Linked DNA regions of Homo sapiens: region 1 is linked to region 2. Evidence: promoter capture Hi-C in 16 types of primary human blood cells and fetal thymus (Javierre and others, 2016). All regions are on one chromosome and are shown on one strand. The core of a region is centred on a gene start or on the middle of the fragment in contact, and the rest is flanking DNA. Distances in the headings are between cores, read along the strand shown.

The links. Contacts are between HindIII fragments. The CHiCAGO score rates a contact against its expected background, and 5 or more counts as called.
Region 1: the fragment with the promoter of TEAD4 here is called in contact with the fragment with the promoter of FOXM1 in region 2 in 1 of 17 cell types (endothelial precursors); the score reaches 5.5 in endothelial precursors.

What each region holds. Positions count from the first base shown.
Region 1 is chr12:2,958,006-2,961,166 of GRCh38, reverse strand. TEAD4 (TEA domain transcription factor 4) reads right to left here and starts at 1,770. Exons shown (of 13, transcript NM_003213.4): 1 at 1,686-1,770; 2 at 1,127-1,219. LOC124902859 (a long non-coding RNA gene) reads left to right here and starts at 1,119. Exons shown (of 2, transcript XR_007063159.1): 1 at 1,119-1,426; 2 at 2,942-3,161. RefSeq lists an enhancer at 865-1,600. The HindIII fragment of the contact is 21,466 bases long and covers 1-3,161 here.
Region 2 is chr12:2,875,578-2,878,566 of GRCh38, reverse strand. It overlaps FOXM1 (forkhead box M1), which reads left to right and starts at 1,393. Exons shown (of 9, transcript NM_021953.4): 1 at 1,393-1,647. RHNO1 (RAD9-HUS1-RAD1 interacting nuclear orphan 1) reads right to left here and starts at 1,344. Exons shown (of 3, transcript NM_001252499.3): 1 at 1,285-1,344. RefSeq lists silencers at 1,088-1,527, 1,568-1,637. The HindIII fragment of the contact is 3,757 bases long and covers 26-2,989 here.

The DNA.
Region 1 (3,161 bases), core at 521-3,020, 82 kb before region 2:
ACTATTTACACAAGTCTCCAGATTCAAAACTGTCTCCTTTTCCCGGGGATCCACCCCGACAAACCTTCCCAAATCTCACCCGCCCATCCCATCCCCCAAAGGCAAAGATCTCAACTTCCTTCAGCCTCCTACCAGCTTTTTGACCTATTCCAGGCAAGCACAAGACCCTCGCCCTGAGAAAGTCAGCCTCCTGGCTCCAAGAGGCAGGTGGAGCCAGCTTCCTTCCAGCTCTGCCCGGTCCAGGGGAAACGGAGCCTGGAGGCCACACACTCCAAAACCACAGTCAAATTATCCCTGCACTCAGGCAACCAGAGACACTGACTCTTGCCCACGGCTATGTAGGGAGGAAGAACAGTCCTAGCCAGAACCAACATCCTCGAAGAGAAACACATACTCAAGAGACGTGGCATCACACACCTACTCAGAGATACTCACTTTCAGACAGCCCCTTCTCACGCAGACATATACACACACTCTGTCACTCACGTTCAACACAAACAAATACGCCCACTGGAAGCCAAGGTGAGCCACACGTGAACAGACATCACCCACACAGAGACTCAAAGCGAGGGGGACTCGCAGTCAGGTGTCACACAGACTCAGCACAGACGCAGTCAGTCCGCGGGGCCTCAAGTGCCTCAGCACAACGGGGGAAATGTTCACTTTGGGGTTTGAAAGTTCTGCTCCCTGGATCGATCCACTAGTCCCCATCAGGAAACACAGCAGCTTCCCAAGCCCTGAGGTGTAGGACCTTTTGCAGGGGTCCCCCGACTTTCGCATCGCCTTTGCACTTAAAACAGGCAGTCCGCTTACCTCCAGGTCTCTCCCTTCCAGGCTCGAAAAGGGCCCAGCAGAAAAGAGGCATGGGTGCTGGGTCTCTTCTGTTGCCGATGCTCTCGGTTCTGCCTCTCCGGTCCTTTCCACACCGGCCTCCCTTTCCCCCAAAGTCCCGAGTGTCCACCCCCCTTACCCGCCCCTGGAGCCGCTTCGCCTCCAGCAGCCTCAGTCGCGCCGCCTCCACGTGCCTCGCTCTTCCCAGTCTCGTCCCGGGAGGGAGCTCCGCACGCACCGCGCAGACTCCTGCCCTCCGGCAAAGTCCTACCAAGTCCCCGCGCCCCAGCCTTACCGGTCCCAGGGTGCGGGAAGGTGGGATGGGTGCGCTAAGCCAGTTCCAAGGAGTCCGCCCCGAGCGCCAACTCTTCCGGCCGCGGCGATCGTTCTGCGGGGACGACAGGGCGTCAGCGCGCAGAGCCGGGCTCCGGCCGGGGCCGACGGGCGGCGCAGTGAAGGCGGGGCCGCGGGGCCAAGCCCACCCCGCGCCGACCGGCCCCGGTGCGCCCAGCGGAGCGGAGCGGAGCGCGCGGAGGGAGGAGTTTTCCCAGAATGGGACTGACGGGAAAACACGGGGATCCCTATTCCTGGAGGAGTGAGTCAACCGGGAGCGAGGAGGGGAGCGCGGGGCGGACAGGAGGGAAGCGGGAGAGGGGCAGCGAGCAGCGCCGGAGCGCGGAGGGAAGCCAGAGGTCGGGACGGAGCGCGTCGGAGCGCAGAGGTCCAAGGCGGGAACGCGGGCGGCGGAAAGAAAAGAGCAGCCGAGCACGCGGCGCGAGCGGTCGGCTGCGGCGGCGTGGGGCGCGCGGCCCGTGAGGGCGCCGGCGGGTGCGGCGGGCGCGGGCGCCTCTCACCTGGCGGGACGCGGCGGCGCCGGAGCTGCGGCCCTCCCGCCCCCTGGCCTCGAGTGTGCGAGGAGGACGCTGGAATGCGCGGAATGAGGGCTGGAATGAGATGCGCGCCGCGGCGGGAGGGAGGGAGCCGGAGGGAGTGGCGGCGGGGCCACCGGCACCTCGGGGAGGAGACTGCGCCGCGCGCGGGCGGGCGAGGGGCCGGGCCGCCGGGGCGGGGCGGGGCCGGGCCGGGCCGGGGCGGGCGGCGGGGGAGGGGGCCGAGGGACGGCGGGGACCCCTCCACCCGGGCCTCGGCTGCGGCCCCCACGCCCACTAGCCCTTCGATCTCTCCGCTCCGACTGTTTGGCTGCTCGTTGCGCGCCCCGCGCCCTCCCCTCCTGGCGGGGTCCCGACTCCCTTTCCCAGGAGCCGAGAGCCTTCCTCTTCGCCGGGGTGGGGCTGTCCCGGGGGCGGGGGGGTGGACGGGGCCCAGACTCCCGCCCCGCCACCCGGCGTCCCTCCGCACGAGTCCCTGGGAGGCCGGGGAAGGGGCGGGCTCCCGGCGCGCAGGAAGGGCTGCTCCCTTCCTGCGGCTCCCACCAAAGGACACTTGCTCCGGGGAACCAGGAAGCAGGAACTCGCGGGCTCCATTCCCAGATCCGCTGCCAGTGCCCCCTCGCTTGCCCTCCCCGGCTTTAGCTCTTTCCGTTTTTCTCTCCTGCCCCTTGGGCATCTGTAAAACCGCCACTACGAGTAAACCACATGGGAGAAAGGGCACTCGGTTTGAAGTCCATGTGGCATGCCATGGGACGCCTTCTGGGCTCAGTGACTCAATGAATATTCATCTAAGATGTGTGATGAGTCCAGATACTGTGAAGATCAGGATCAGCCGTCAGCACCTGCCCTCAAAGAGCTCAGAGTTTAGCTGGGGAGGCCTCGGTGTATACTGCCATCGGTGAGAGTCTGGACTTCAGACACACATGCCCAGGAGTCTCTTATTGGGGCAGGAGGTGCTGGAAACACGCTGGGCTCCTTGTTTGGAGACGCTTAGGACAAACGGGCTTAAAGCAGTGTGCTGGCAGGTAGCGCCATCATCTACCTGGCCAGGAGACTGAAACCAAAGGACTTTTGGCTTTTTCCAAAAATCAAATCCAACCTTTTCTGGGGCATTATCACTTAGCCTTGTGTTGGGTGGTTGTCTAGATCTTATCTCCCTTGCCAAACAGAAACTTCCTTGAAGACAGAGTAATGTCTGATTTATCTTATCTTTCACACAGATCCAGCCTGGTGCCTGGGATAGGGAAGTGCATGATAAATGCTGCATAAATGAAAAACAATTGCTACCGTGGAAGATATTGAAAGGAAAGTGCTATCGATGCCAAAGTTGTTTCCAAGAGAGGTATTCCAAAAGTGTTTCAAGCAATGACTGAGCTAAGCATCCAGTCCTGCAAGGTGAAGGCGTTGAAGACGCAGCCCTCATTTGAATAGATGAATTGT
Region 2 (2,989 bases), core at 144-2,643:
CCTGGATTCACTTCTGCTTAAAGCTTATGACTGGTTTCCTTTAATTCTTGGATAAGCACAAAACTTCTCGGTATGGCTAAGGCTCTGCTTCCTCCGGCTCCAGCTTCAACTCACACCACACTCCATTCAGGTCGATTAGCTCAAACCCCTCAGATATTTCTCAGCCTTTGTACTCACTGTGCTTCCTCCTGCCATCCAGCCTTTGCACGCCTGATTCCCTCTGCTTAGAGGAGTTCCCTCCTTTCTTTGTAAAAGGCATCAGATCTCACACCAAGCTCTCATTACAAAAGCCTTTCCTGTCCTACCTCTCAAGATCTCGTTATTGTAAATACTCAAAGTATCATTAACCTCTAATGTTTCAATTTACAGCAATAATTCAACATTTGTTTGTTTTGGAGACGGTGTCTCCCTCTGTCGCCCAGGCTGGAGTGCAGTGGTGTGATCATGGCTTACCATAGCCTCCACCTCTCGGCCTCAGGTGATCCTTCCACCTCAGCCTCCAGAGTAGCTGGGACTACAGGCACGCACCACCACGCCCGGCTAATTTTTAGTAGAGAAGCGGTTTCGCTATGTTGCCAGGCTGGTCTCGAACTCGTGACCTCAAGTGATCCACCCGCCTCGGCCTCCTAAAGTGCTGGGATTACAGGCGTGAGCCACTATGCCCAGCCCACATTTGTTTATTTGATTAAAATGTCTGTGCCCCTCTTCCAGGATTGGGCTGTGAGCCCAGGGGAAGGAAAGAACCTTGTCTGCCATTGTATCTTCAGGGCCTAGCGGTGCCTGGCGCACAGCAGTTGCTCAACTAGACTGGTTGACTAAGTCAATAAATAAAGCACTACGGTCTATTATATCCGAAGGCTTGGCTTCGGGAGGGGCAAAAGACAGGTTTCGCGCTGAGGTAGGGTTCATGGTGCCGACATTTTTTTTCAAGATGGAAGAAAGCGGAGATAATACGCAGCCCTCAAAGGAACTTAGTCTAATCGGGGGGAGCAGACGATCGTTCACTGTGGGAAAATGGGGTACGATTTCCCCCAGTGAGGAAATCAACTAAAGCCGAGCTTTGAAAAGGGGAGCAGAGGAGCCTGAGGGGAAGCGGGGGCGTGTCGCCTGGCGTGACCAGCGCGGCAGGAAAAGCGGGCCCAGGGACCCGGGCCTGTCACGCCGCTTCCGCGCGTCCCCAAACTCTCCCTCGGCTCGCCCACCCACGCGGCGGGGACCCCTCCGGCCCCTCCCCGGCCCCACGGCCACTTCTTCCCCCACAAGCCGGCCTGCGGTCCGCCTTACCAGCCCGGGCCGGACGGGGCCGCAGCTCCTGGCAGACCGCACAGCCTTCGAGCCCGGAATGCCGAGACAAGGCCGGCGCCGATTGGCGACGTTCCGTCACGTGACCTTAACGCTCCGCCGGCGCCAATTTCAAACAGCGGAACAAACTGAAAGCTCCGGTGCCAGACCCCACCCCCGGCCCCGGCCCGGGACCCCCTCCCCTCCCGGGATCCCCCGGGGTTCCCACCCCGCCCGCACCGCCGGGGACCCGGCCGGTCCGGCGCGAGCCCCCGTCCGGGGCCCTGGCTCGGCCCCCAGGTTGGAGGAGCCCGGAGCCCGCCTTCGGAGCTACGGCCTAACGGCGGCGGCGACTGCAGTCTGGAGGTGAGCGGGATGCAGCAATGGAGTCCCAGGCCTGGCCTGGGCACAGGCGGGGAGCAAGGCCTCCGGGCGCGGAGGTCAGGGCGTCTAGCAGCAGGGCACGGGCCACGAGTGGAGATTTGGGTCACACGGGAAGAATCTGAGCCAGGGTGCAAGTTTTTTCTGCGTCCACCTCCTGGCCGTGGCCTTCTCACTGCTTAAAGCGCCCCTTGGCCTTCCCTGGAAGTCTGACCTCCGCACCCTGCCCGCGGCCTCGGGAGGGCTGGGGTGGCCTACCTTCTTAGGCCGACTGTGGCTGAGATGAAGACTGAGATTGTACTACATTGAGTCAAAGACCAACCTGCATACACACTCCCCTGCTCCCAGGCTGTCTCACCACTAGGCAACACCGCCTCCATCTTACTTACCCTTTTGCAGGGCCCTTTTCCTGGTTCTTGAGAATGTAGCAAGATTTCCCCGCTCAGGATGGGGATGGGTCGGAGGAGCCACTCTGGAAGTTTCCCGGGCAAGAAAGTGTTGGCAATAATAATAACGGGCTGGTCAGGAAGTAGAAGAGAAAATTAAGACTTAGATATCCTGTGGAAAAAGAGGAATAATATCTACTGATTGATGCGGGGAGAGAGGGAAGCCTGGAAAGATCGGAGGTGAAAGTAAAACTGAGATTTGAAGGTAGAGGTGTGGAGGGCCTGTGAACTCTATGCAGATGACAAATGTCAAAAAAGTGCAGTTGCTTTTCAGGGAGAGAATAAGTGTCCTAAAAAAGAGACAGCCAATTCCTCTGTCTTCCAAAGTTCCGTGAAATAGAATTACACAATTTTGCTTAATGGTAGAATATTCCATGTATCTATTAAAATCAACAAAAGGCCGGGCGCAGTGGCTCACGCCTGTAATCCCAGCACTTTGGGAGGCCGAGGCGGGTGGATCACCTGAGGAGTTCAAGACCAGCCTGGCAAACATGGTGAAACCCTGTTTCTACTAAAAAAAAAAAAAAAAAATTAGCTGGGCATGGTGGTGCATGCCTGTAATTGCAGCTACTCGGGAGGCTGAGGCAGGAGAATCGCTTGAACCCGGGAGGCCGAGGTTGCAGTGAGCTGAGATTGCGCCATTGCACTCCAGCCTGGGTGACAAGAGCGAAGCTCCGTCTCAAAAAAAAAAAAAAAATTAAAAAAAATCAACAAAAGACTTAAAAAAAAAAGACTACACTGTTAGCATTTCAGAACCACCTTAGTGTAATGATGATAGCTCATTGTGGTACTAAGAAGACAGGGGTTATAGTCTTATTTCTGGAAAAGAAATTAATAAAGTGGCATGCTTAGTTAAAATATATATAACCACATGCAAGTAC